Regions from separate parts of the Homo sapiens genome. Here region 1 is linked to region 2. Evidence: promoter capture Hi-C in 16 types of primary human blood cells and fetal thymus (Javierre and others, 2016). All regions are on one chromosome and are shown on one strand. Each heading gives the region's core, a stretch centred on a gene start or on the middle of the fragment in contact. The rest is flanking DNA. Distances are from core to core; before and after follow the strand shown.

The links. Contacts are between HindIII fragments. The CHiCAGO score rates a contact against its expected background, and 5 or more counts as called.
Region 1: a fragment that was not itself captured here is called in contact with the fragment with the promoter of STK39 in region 2 in 1 of 17 cell types (total CD4 T cells); the score reaches 6.0 in total CD4 T cells.

What each region holds. Positions count from the first base shown.
Region 1 is chr2:168,874,286-168,880,539 of GRCh38, forward strand. SPC25 (SPC25 component of NDC80 kinetochore complex) reads right to left here. Exons shown (of 7, transcript NM_020675.4): 4 at 2,953-3,099; 5 at 1,787-1,891. Among named protein-coding and RNA genes, the nearest start is that of SPC25, 13 kb to the right of the region's middle. The HindIII fragment of the contact is 528 bases long and covers 3,314-3,841 here.
Region 2 is chr2:168,242,733-168,249,084 of GRCh38, forward strand. It overlaps STK39 (serine/threonine kinase 39), which reads right to left and starts at 4,863. Exons shown (of 18, transcript NM_013233.3): 1 at 4,496-4,863. The coding sequence starts at 4,703. LOC107985959 (a long non-coding RNA gene) reads left to right here and starts at 5,229. Exons shown (of 5, transcript XR_007087282.1): 1 at 5,229-5,336. RefSeq lists silencers at 3,749-3,948, 3,969-4,058, 4,149-4,198, 4,559-4,608, 4,819-5,068. The HindIII fragment of the contact is 2,511 bases long and covers 3,169-5,679 here.

The DNA of each region.
Region 1 (6,254 bases), core at 2,328-4,827, 630 kb after region 2:
AAATGGTACAGCCACTGTGAAAAACAGTTTGGCAGATCCTCAAAAAGTTTAAATACAGAATTACAATATGACCCAGCAATTCCACTCCTAAGTATAGAGCTGAAAGAATTGAAAACGGAGACTCAAGTAGATAACTGTATGCCAATGTTCATAGCAGCATTATTCATAGTAGCCAAAAAGTGGAAATAACCCAGTGCCCACCAACAGATGAATGGATATAGTACACACATACAATGGAACATTGTTCAGCCATAAAATGGAATGAACTTGGCTGCTGTGGTCTTTTTTATGATTCACTAGGAGAACTCATAGGATTCACTCAGCAGCATATGGCCATACTCAGGGCTATGATTTATTACAGCAAAAGGATATAGCGAAATCAGCAAAGGGAAAAGGTACATGGAGTAAAGTCCAAGGAGAACCAGGCATAAGCGTCCAGAACCTCTAATGAGCTTCCTGGTAGACAACACTTCACGTGTGTTGTCACAATTTGATGCTGAAGGAATTAGCACATCCTGTTTGACTCTACTGGGTTAGCACTCTTGAAAGCTTGTGCCAGGTTTCCTGTAGACTTTGCCCCACGTGCTATTGTTTCTTTGCTGATTCTGTTCTGTATCCTTTTGCTGCAGTAAATCTTAGCTATGAATATGACTATATGCTAATTCCTTCTAGTGAATCACCAAACCTGAGAGTGATCTTGGGAAGCCCAGACACAACAGACATTGCCATACATTAGCGATGTACATGTGATATACATGCAACAGGCATCAAAATATTCATGTGTTTTAGCCTACTAATTCCTCTCTGGGAAACAATTCTATGAAAAACCATGCAAAGAAAATGGGAAAGTCTATGCTCACTGGTTTACAATAGTCCCCCTTTATCCACCAGGGAGAAATATGTTCCAAGACCCCAACAGATGCCTGAAACCGTAGATAGTAGCAAACACTATGTAAACAGATGCTCCTTGACTTACAATGGCATTATGTGCCAATAAACACATCAAAAGTCAAAAACATTGTAAGGCAAAAATGCATTTAACACCCTGATAAACTGATTATAAAGTCAAAAAATTGTAAGTTGAACTATCATAAGTCAGGGACTGTCCATACTATGTATTTTCCTATACATTCATACCTATGATAAAGTTTATGTTGTAAATTAGGCACAGAAAGAGATTAACAACAACTAATAATAAAACAGAACAATTACAACAACGTACTGTAATAAAAGTTATATTAATGTAGCTTCTCTCCCTCTCACAATATCTTATTGTACCATACTCATCCATTTAATATCATCAGACCACGGTTGAACATGGGTAACAGAAACCGTGAATAAGTGGGGATGACTGTATTTCTAAAACTGAAAAAAATGGCAGAATCCAAATGTTGGTAGAAGCAAAATATGTGCTAAACAATAGGTAAATGGTTGAATAAATTATGCTATATTAATAGAATGAATTATTACATCACTACTTAAAAATTACCATTATGAAGACTATAGCAACTGAGGAAATGCTCAGAATACAATGCTGATAGGAAGAACAAAAATTATTTGCATGTTGACAATCATGCCAAAAATACATTTATTAAAATACCGAATGATAAATAACTACAGCATCAGTAGCTACATTAGAATAATTTAAAAATTGTAATTTTTTCCTATTTTCTAAAAAGTTAATGTGGTCATTATTTTAGTTGAAAATATTTTTAAAATTTTCCTCTACTTAAGAAAAGACATACTTTTGTAATCTCCTATATTTTATTTATATTAACAAACTTACCATAAATTTTTCGAATTTCTAGTCCAAGTCGATCTTTATACAAGTCTGCAGATTTCTGCAGCCTTTTCAACCTCTCTGCATTCGCTTTATTAGCAGTAGAAATAGCTGATTAAAAAACACACACAATATTAAATGTTTTAAATAATAGCAAATTAATGCTCACTGAGTTAATTTTTTAAACTTAAAATCAACTATAAAATGATGCCAAGCCTATAAATCTGCTTCCATTTATTGTTTCTATATCTACCAGTTGGCTAAAAGAAGCTTCTGTTCATTCAAGTTGGAAGGAAAAACTGCTCAGGAAAATGTATACAGATAGTGAGAAGAATAAGCCTTGTCTTACTTTATTATGTAGTAGCATAAGTAAATAGGCCAGGGATTTGTATGGCTGGCATAGAAATAGACTTCATTTATACTACTGTGCTTTTTTTCTAGATAACCAATTGCTTCATGGGAAAATGTTCTCTTCCTTTAACATAACTATTTCTTATGAGAGGTCAGCCTTATTTCATGCTAGTTTAGTTTTTTCTTTTTTTTTTTTTTAAGTTAGCACAATAGTCCCTAAATATACTTTAAAGTAGCACAATAGTCCCTAAGTAATGAGAAAAATAATTTCACAATTTAGACTTGGATAAGAACTCCACAAGAAAAAGCATTTACAAAACAAACTTTGCTATTTTCAGATTTGAAGAATAGACTACCTAGTTTGTGAGCAAACAAGGCTCCTTTCTAAAAGATGCATTCATTTGAATATGAAAGTTCTTTATACATAAGAGATTTTGCAGCATAAAAAGAACGCTTAACATTACCTGGCAGAGAATGTATGGTCAATAAATATTTGTTGCATAAAGTACACTATGGCTTGTCCAAAGCAAATTTTATTTAGGGACACCATTTCTCACTCTGCTTAATTAAAACCTCCTATCAATTTCATTATTACTGATTATATTAAAAATAACAAGAGAAGGCCCTTTAAGTAAGACAAAAGAAAATAAAACCCAGTTAGTTAACTTTAATGACATCTTGCAGAGATGAGTGGCTGGTTATGCCCTGGGGTACTGTAATCCATTTTTAGCAATGAACTGGAACAGGCAAGATGTACTTAATAAAGGTGAACCGTCACCACTTTCCATTTTAGATCAGTATGTTTATAAGAGGAAACTTACTTTCCTTCTTCCTAGAATATTCTTCCTTAAGATCCTGGATATTTGCAGTCAGTACTTCCAATTCCTGCTTTTTGCCTTTTACTTCAGCAATCAATTTTAACAAGTTATCCTTTTTTTCTTGAATGAGCTTATTTTGCCTGCTGATCTCTGTAAGAAGCACAAGGTATTAGCTAGAATATGCTTGGCTCTCTGACATGTATCTAAGAAAAGGCCAAAGTTTACTGACTTTCATAAAGATTAATAAAGAATGTTTTGACTGATAAGCATTTTCTAATGATTCAAAATTATAAAAGACAAAAAAGAAAAAAAACCTAATCTATTCTTTCCTACTTACTCATCTTTAAAAAAAATGAGACAGAAAAGCTTCTTAAAATGAGAATACCAAATTAAATCAAGAAACAGAAAATCAAAAGATCATGACCCTTGCAGCTCCCCACTCCAAATAAGCACAGAAATAAAAACTACCAACAAAGATAACTAAACTCTATTATTTATTTTATTTTTATATTTTTTTGAAACAGGGTCTCACTGTTGCCCAGGCTGGAATACAGTGGCACAATCACTACTCATTGCAGCCTCCCACCTTAGCATCCCTAGTACCTGGGACTACAGGCACACACCACATCACGCCTGGCTGATTTTTAAATTTTTTTGTCTCACTATGTTGCCCAGGCTAGTCTCAAACTCTTAGGCTCAAGCAATCCTCCTACCTCAGCCTCTCAAAGTGCTGGGATTACCAGTGCAAGCCACCACGCCTGGCCAACAACCAAACTCTAGAAGATGGTTTTAAACAGTGCTTTGAGGAAAAGCCTCACTCTAATGCTATATAAATTATTCCGGAACATACCAAAAGACAGAAATAAGTGAAGGAAGACAGGTGGGCAGGCAAAGCTTACAATGTAAGCATAATTCTAAAGCTAAAACAAAAAATTAAAGATAGCACTGGCCCTCTGCCCACAACTATATAAACTAATCTCACTTAAAAACATAGGTGCAAAGATGCTCAATAAAATATTAAGTTACATTAAAAATAATCCACTAAGAGCAAATATAGTTTATACCAAGGATTTTACATAGTGAAGGTGTAATATTAGGAAAATCCATCACATGAATAAGAATTGAAGAGACATTTCATATGAATTCAGCATCCACTCCTGACTATTCTTAACTATAAATGGAAGGACATTTAACATGATAGAAACAAATCAAAAACCTTTCAAATCTCATCATATATATTTGGCATTTCCAAAAGGAATAAAATAGATGCCAGTTAGCACTGTTATTTAATATTTCCCTAGAAGTTTCTGGCCAAGACAAGATATTTAGCTGGTAAAACTATAAGGAAAAAACAAGAACTATTTTTCATTATATGTAGACAATAGACATCTATCTAGAATACTCAGAAAAATCTACTGAAAACCTATCAGAATTTGTGGTACTACACCCCAAAAAAATCAATAGTTTTTGTACATAACACCAGTGATTAATACATAGGTAAGAATAGATGTTTATACTAATATTAATAGCTGCAATATTCGTTTTTGTTCTTTGTTTTTATTGGTTTTATTAGTTTTTGCTATTCTGTGCTATTTTTAAGTACTGGCATACGTTGGAGATATTGCAAGTTCTATTCCAGATCACTGTGATAAAGCGAATATTGCCATAAAGCAAGTCACACAAATGTTTTGGTTTCCCAGTACATAGAAAAGTTATTTTACACTATATTGTAGTCTATTAAGCGTGCAATAGCATTATGGCTAAAAAACAAATGTACATATCTTAATTAAAAATATTTTATTGCTAAAATATGCTAATAATCATCTGAGCCTTCAGCAAGTCCTAAACTTTTGCAGGGGGAGGGTCTTGCCTTGATGTTGATGGCTGCTGACTGATCAGAGTGGTAGCTGCTGAAGGTTGGGGTGGCTGTGGCAATTTATTATAATAGGACAACAATAAAGTTTGCTGCATTAATCAACTCTTTCATGAAAGATTTCTCTGCAGCATACAATGATGTTTGACAGCATTTACCCCTGGTAGAACTGTTTTCAAAATTGGAGTCAGTCTTCTCAAACCCTGCGCTACTTTATCAACTAAGTTTATATAATAGTCTAAATCCTTTGTTGTCAGTTAAACAATGTTCACAGCATCTTCACCAGGAGTGGATTCCATTCCATAAAACCACTTTCTTTGCTTATCCATAAGAAGCAACTCCTTATCCATTCAAGTTTTATCTGAGATGGCAGCAATTCGGTCACATCTTCAGGCTCCACTTCTAAATCTAGGTCTCTTGTGATTTCTACCACATCTGTAGTTACTTTCTCCATTGAAGTCTTGAACCTCTCAAAGTCATCCATGAGGGTTAAAATCAACTTCTTCCAAGCTCTTGTTCATGTTGATATTTTGACCTCTTCCTGTGAATCACGAATGTTCTATGGCATCTAGAATGGTGAATCCTTTCTCTGGAAGGTTTTCAATTTATTTTGCCCAGATCTATCAGAGTTAATCACTATTTGGGTAGCTATAACCTTATTTCTTAAATAATGAGACATGAAAGTCAAAACTACCCCTTGATCCATGGGCTGCAGAATGGATGTTGTCTTAGTAGGCATGAAAACAACACTAATCTCCATCAGCGCTCTTGAGTGACCAGATGCACTGTTAATGAGCAGAAATATTTTGAAAGCCATCTTTTTTCCTGAGTAGAAGGCCTCAACAGTGGGCCTAAAATATTCAGTAAACTATGCTATACACACATGTGCTGTCATCTAGGCTTTGCTATTCCATTTATAGAACATAGGCAGAGTAGATTTAGTATAATTCTTAAGGGCCCTAGGATTTGGGGAATGGCAAGTGAGCACAGGCTTCAACTTAAAGTCACCAGGTGCATTAGTCACTAAAGAGTCAGCCTGTCTTTGAAGCTTCAAAGCAGGCCTTGACTTCTCTCTAGCTATGAAAGTCCTAGATGGCATCTTCTTCCAATAGAAAACTGCTTTTTCATCTACATCAAAAATCCGTTCTTTAATGATCTGTTCATTCAATGATCTTAGCTAGATAACTTGCTGTAGCTTCTACATTAGCACTTCTGCTTCATCTTGCATTTTTATTTTATGGAGGCAGCTGCTTTCCTTAAACCTCAAGAACCAACTTCTGCTAGCTTCAAACTTTTCTTCTGAAACTTCCTCATCTTTCTCAAGCCTTCACAGAATTGAAGAGGGCTAGAGTCTTACCCTGAATTAGGCTTTTGCTTAAGGGAATGTTGTGGTTTGTTTGCTCTTCTATTAAGGCCACTAAAATTTTCTCTA
Region 2 (6,352 bases), core at 3,613-6,112:
GAAAAAAAAAATTAGGCAGGCATGATGGTTTGCACCTATAGACCCAGCTACTCAGGAGGCTGATGTGGGAAGATCACTTGAGCCCAAGAGTTCGAGGCTGCAGTGAGGTATGATTGCACCACTGCACTCTAGCCTGGGTGACAGAGTGAGACCCTTTATCAAAAAAAAAAAAATACAAAATACAAAAGAACATTTCTATATACATTTTTCTATTTATTAAAAAAGAAAGTGAAATGAAATGAAAATCAAAGCCCTGTCTTGAGACAAAGCATTTCAGACATCATTTAGTATTTTAAAAACAACAACAAACAAACTAATCAAGATCAAAGAACCCACTGCAGCAGCAAGGCAGCCTGGTATAAAGGTCTGGGAGATCAGAACACACTCAGTGCTCCGGCTCCCTTACCCTAGCGCCAGCGAAGGTACCACTGTCCTCAAACTGCCTCTAGGATATCTATAAAAACCAATTCTAACCCCCAAACCATAGAAATCCACAGAAACTCTGAGAGCACAGAGCAAAGTGGGAATGCCCAGGGCTATTTACAATCTCATTTTACAAGAGGCTGTTGCTCCTTAAAGACCTGGCCATATGTGCTATTACCTGGACCTGAGTAAAACGCACCTGAATGGATAAACAATGCCTCACAGGAGAGAAATAAAGCATTCAAAGGAACCCTCTGTCAAACCATGTCCAGGATTCTAGAACTCAAATTCTTCGTGTTGACTAAGATGGCAATTTGTTACTTTTAGGTCATTCTAAATGACCACCCGGGACAAAAGTGAAGCAATGCTGAGAAATCTAGTATAAAACTACATAAAGAAAGGTGCATCCTGCAAAAACCCTAAGAAAATCAAACAAACTCCTGCTGAGGCAGGAGTCTAGGGTTTCTCAGAAGAAATTCAGCAAAGATAACAACATTGCTGGAATCACCTAATTCAAATACAGAAATTAGTACTTCAATGACTACAATTCTTTGAATGAGAAGTTCATTGAGGCTGCTCCATTCCATTACGGATGGCCAAGTAAACACTTATATGATTCACTTTCATTCCCTGTTTAGCAAATCTAGGTAATATTATTAACACCCCCAACAAATAAACTAAGTTTTCAACTGGCATAGCTTTAAGTGCCCCTTATACTTCTAAAGGTAGGGGTACCTACTTTTGGGGGCTCAACTCACCCCCAAATTCCTTCTTTAGAGAGGTAAGGAACAAAGATTAACAAGGCTGAAGAGTATAAACAGGTCGGAAAGCCTCCAAAAAGACAGAAATATTTGAAATCTACTAAGACAAGGATATCAATGTCTGGAAGAAGGAATTTAATAATTTCCAACATTTTTAACCCCTCTGTAAATATAAAGCTCCCTCCCATCGATTTTACATCATTTCCAGGTCATGAATAAACTTATGAACCAGAATACTCCTAAGAGCATTACAATTTCTCCACTGACGTTTTAAAACACAAGAACAACAATACAATAAAGAGAAAACTTTATTTTTAGGTTTGCAAAATCCTGTGTTTATTTTTCTAAAACTGAAGTCAAACAACTGAACCTGCTTTGTTTGGATTTTAGTAAACTTATTCTCTCTTAATCCTGGGGGACCAAACTCTGCCCAGAAGGAAATGAAGAAAAAGTCCTCCGTGCCCGTGCCATGCTGGAAAGTTAAAACACGGTGCCTCCTTTGGTTTTCTGTTCAGGCACATCTGAGCCTCCTGCTGCTGGTCACGGTTCACACTGCTGGAGTCATATCATATGACACCTGCCGTATGGCGGGTAGAAGCAAAGGCTGTCAACTGGCATTCATGTTGAAACTGGTTCAGTGTTTGAACTGCTAACTTCTGCGTGTAATGTTTAAGCAAAAGTGCTTAACCACAAGTTCAGTCTTAATCTCTCAACTAGCATTAAACCCTAAATGGAAACAGGTTTGTAATTCCTTATAAACATTAAGCCCTTGCGAAAAACCTATTCCAGCAATTTGATTTTTCAATAACAGGGCCTCCACACAGGCCAACTCTTTCTCTTTTAGTTGGGAAAATATGAGATAAACTTTAAATGTAGAAAAGCCCTTCCCACAATGCAAATGCGCAAAAGTCAGGGTAGAATAAGCAGGTGTTTTTGTTCTCAAATTCCTCAGGTAAATTTCTTTTTTTCCACTAAACTGACCAACCATAATTAACACTGCTGGGACTGCAAACAGAAAGAAGTCCTGCCATTAATCCCACTCAACTTAAACTAAGATTTTATTAGTTCACAAAAAAATACTGTTTTCAAAAGGCAACGTTTGTATTTTAACCCTAATAATTGACCAAGTAGGTATATAAATTGATTATAACTTCTCCCAATCCTATGGACTCTATGGAGAATTATGTGGCAGATACCATTATTCAACTTTTATGGCCCACCTCTTCCTGTCAGAGTTCACAGCTGGTTAGTGAAGGCAACAGTGGAAATAATTAAGCACCTTACAAACTCAGACTTAAAACCCAGCTCAACTACGACCTCTACTAAGAAATACTCTGCTTCCTTCTCTTTCCTGGCAGTCACTCCCTCCTTCGGGCTCTCCCAGTACTTACTCATCACATCCTATAGGATCCTTTCCCTATGTCTCCTAACAACTTAGGGCAGGGATCACTTTTGTTAATTTCTATATTGCTAGCAAGTGGGGCAATGCTTGGGACACAGCAGGCCTTCAGATCTTGTTGCGCAAATAACAACTATGAGGTTACATGCTATGAGGTCTGTAAAAAGAGGGGCAGAAGAAACCACGGCATTTTGCCTTGAAAGAAGCAGAAGGCTTTTCAAGGAATATTCACACTCACCTTGGAAGCGGAGTGAGATTTAGTACACAAAGATGGGCACTCACAGGAGGGAAGAGCCTCTGCAAGGCAGCAAAGAATGGAAGACCAGATGTGCGGAAGACAGCGGTGTATTCAGGAAGCAATCACTGAAGAGTAGACAATGGGAGGAGGCAGGCAGGTTGAGGGTACAGGGCCTATATGCCAGGTTAAAGAGGTTTCCATGGAATATTCCAGGCTTTGAGAAGCCCCTGAAGCTATTTCAGGCAGTGACATGAAGACTCATCCCTTTAGAGTCTTTGGTCAAAAATTATGAAAGATCTGGGTTTTCAAAGAATTTTGTCTACAGATGCCTATTATAGGTTATCTGAAGCTTGTATATATCCTAGGTTACGGACCTGCCCAACATTTTCTCACATATTTTTATGTATATATTTATATATATATTTCCGTCTATGCTGTTTTATTCCCCAATAGCAGGTGATAAAGGCTCATTTAAACACCTAGTGAAATTTTTATATCTGTTTTAATTTTTTTAAAAGGAGGTGAAGAATTTTTTGAAGTGAAAGTTAGAAAAAATACTTAAGATAAATATTCTGAACTCCTTTTTCATCGCTGTACTTATATACCAAGATTCTGGAAAGGCAACATCCCATCCCTGCGTCAGTAAGGTTAGACGCTGAGGGCCCACTTAACCTGGAGGCTTCCCTAAGTGACAAGACTCTCAAACTGGATGATCCAATAGGGAAGGTTCTAAGTCAAGGGACAAAACAAATCTCCTGGCCCTTCAAGTGCTTGGCCCAAGGAAAAGTAACGCCGAGCCCTGCGACTCTGCCAGGTATTTAAAAATGTAAGATAAGGTGATATTTGTGAGCCGGCCAGAAGGCAACGAAAGGCAGAGAGCAGATCACCGGCAGCCTCGGATTTCACTCTTGCAGCTCGGCCTGAAACAGAGGGAAGCATCGGCCCGGTGCAGGGCAGGAGGCCAGGGCACCCGCTTTCCCCGGGGAGCCGGACTGGGCGGCAGGCGGCGCACCCTGGCACGGAGGGAGGCGGGTACCCGGGCGCGCCGAGTGGCGCGGAGAGCCGGGCTGCAAGGCGGGCGTGGAGTGGCGGCTGTCAGGAAGAGAGGCCAGCATCCTCCCCGGCCTCAGAAAAGCACTGGGGCCTCCGCGGCTTCTACGTGGCCCCGTTACCCACGACGAGAGGGTCACGACGGGAGGCAGAGGAGCGGCTGCGCCCGCAGAGTCCCCCAGGACGCGGCCCCCGGGGCCCTGGAAACCCAGGGCGGGGCCCCCGCAACCACACCCCACCCGCGGCTGCCTGTCCGCGTGGCCACCGGCCACGGGCTGCGGTCCCGGCACGCGGGGGGAGGAAGATGCGGCGGCGCCGCCTGGTCCTCCGCTCCACCGCCCCGGCGATCCCTGAGATAAAAGTTTGCAGCATGCGGCTCGTCTGCAGTGCGAGTCACATCCGCCGCGCCGCCTCCTGCAGCACCAACGCTCATAGAACGAACAAATACATTAAAAATTAAAAAAAAAAAAAAAAAAAAAAAAAAAACTGTTGAAGCCAGTAGGCCCCGAAGCCGGCCTCTCTGCCTCCAGGGCGTGCATGCAGGCTAGCCCAGCATCCCGCGCCCCCTCCCGCCCGGCCTCGGCGCCCGGCCTGTGCCGGCCCCGCCGCGCCCGCCGCACTGACCGATAACCTCCTGCAGCTCGTACGCGTCCCTGCAGATGGGCCAGCCGACAGCCTGTGCCGCCGGGGCCGGGGCCGGGGCCGGGGCCGCGGGAGCTGCCGGGGCCGGCGCTGCTGTCGCGGCCGCCGGGGCCGCCGCCGCCGCCGCTGTCACCGGGGCCGCCTGCTGGGGAAGCTGGACGTGCACGGGCGAGCCGCTCGGCTCCGCCATGATGCTGCGGAGGAGAGCAGGAGGACGCGCCGGCCGACGGACGACCTTCCACTTGAAACTTCCTTTGCCTCGCCGCCGACACCTCTCGGCCGGCGCACGCCCTCCCCGCCCGCCGCCGCCGCCGCCGTCCCCGCCGAAGCCAGCTAGGAGGGGAGGGAGCAAGGGAGGCCGAGCTGGGCGGAGGGAGGAGGCAGCGCCGGCGGAGGCGGGGAAGGGAGGAGGCGGCGGCCGCTGCGCTCGCCGCGCGCCCAGAGCCTAGCGCGCGCTGTTCTCCGCCTCGGCGAGGGGAACCGCCGCCCCCCCTCTCCGCCGCCCCCTCCCGCTCCCGCTCCGCTGGCGGCCGGGGAAGTTCCCACCAAAGGAGTCAGGCCGCTTTGTGTGTGCTTTCGGGGCCACCGGCCCTGGTTCTCCTCCTCCCTCCCTGCTCGCCCTGCGCCTTGGCCCCAGACGATCAGGCTTGCCGGAGGACGCCCCCTGGGGACCCCGAGGGCGGGGTCGTTGAACGGCCGCCAGGTTCTCACATTCAGAATTCTCCTGCCACCAAAGAGAACCTGAAGTTCATTTACAAGTTGACGAGCGGGATACCTACATGGTGTCCCTTTGCAAGACGCCAGTTAGAAAATAACCCAAGTTGTAAGTTTCCGGCGCTTTACTTGCCGGTATCCCTTTCCCACCTTGCCTAATCTAATCGCAGTCCTTCTAGTTTTTCTTAGTAAATGAAACTTGATTCCTTAGGTCTCTGGCTGTTCAGACTTCATTTTTTCCAAGCCGCCTGGATCCCAGGGAGGCGATTTAAGGGGCTGTGGAATTAGAATAAGACATGCAGGAGAGGTTTAGAAAGTTTGCTCAAATTCTACACCCTTAATAATTGCCACGTTAGCCCGTGAGGACACTGAGGCCAGACATCAGGCGTTTCTTTAAGAGCGTATACTTGGTGGGGAAATAATTTATTGGGGCATGAATAAACTGTGTTGGAAGCTTTTAATTGCTGTTTTTTCAACACCCCAAAAATAACCTCGTCTGTAAAACTGCTATGGTAAAACCATAGGTTTTCCTAATTATAGGTGTCATATTTAACAGTGAATGTTCTCTGTGTTCCCTCCGTGGAGGTGACCAGGATCCACCGTTCTTGTCTCCAACTGAAACGGGGCAGTAAACCAATAGTATTGGTCGTTTGGCCAAGATGATCTTGTCTGGTTCTCATTGCTAGGACTGCTGAAGAAATAGGTAAGAATAATGAGGATGTAATAAAAACTCTAGGGATATCATGATTTTGTCTCCCGAGTGTATGTACAGAAATCTCACTAAAATTTTTGAAAGATTATTCAGAAGAAGCCCAGAAATTTATTAGGAAAGTTAGTTGTCTAATCAAAACATTGATGTCCACTGAAGATGAGGGCACTTAATCTCTTGGAGCATTACAAAAGTTGGAGTAAAGCAGCTACCTCGCTCTGGTCTTGAAGCAGAAGTTCATGCTGAACTAAGTGTACATTCTTTGATGCGGAGGACTTCAAAAACTGTGTCTTGTCATGTCTGTCAAGAAACAGAGCCCTTCATAAACAAATTCTAGGCCTCTGAGGAACAGGGGAGCTCTTTATACCAAGCCATGGCTGCTGACCTCTTCAAGTGCTGCCTCCACCCTACCCCAA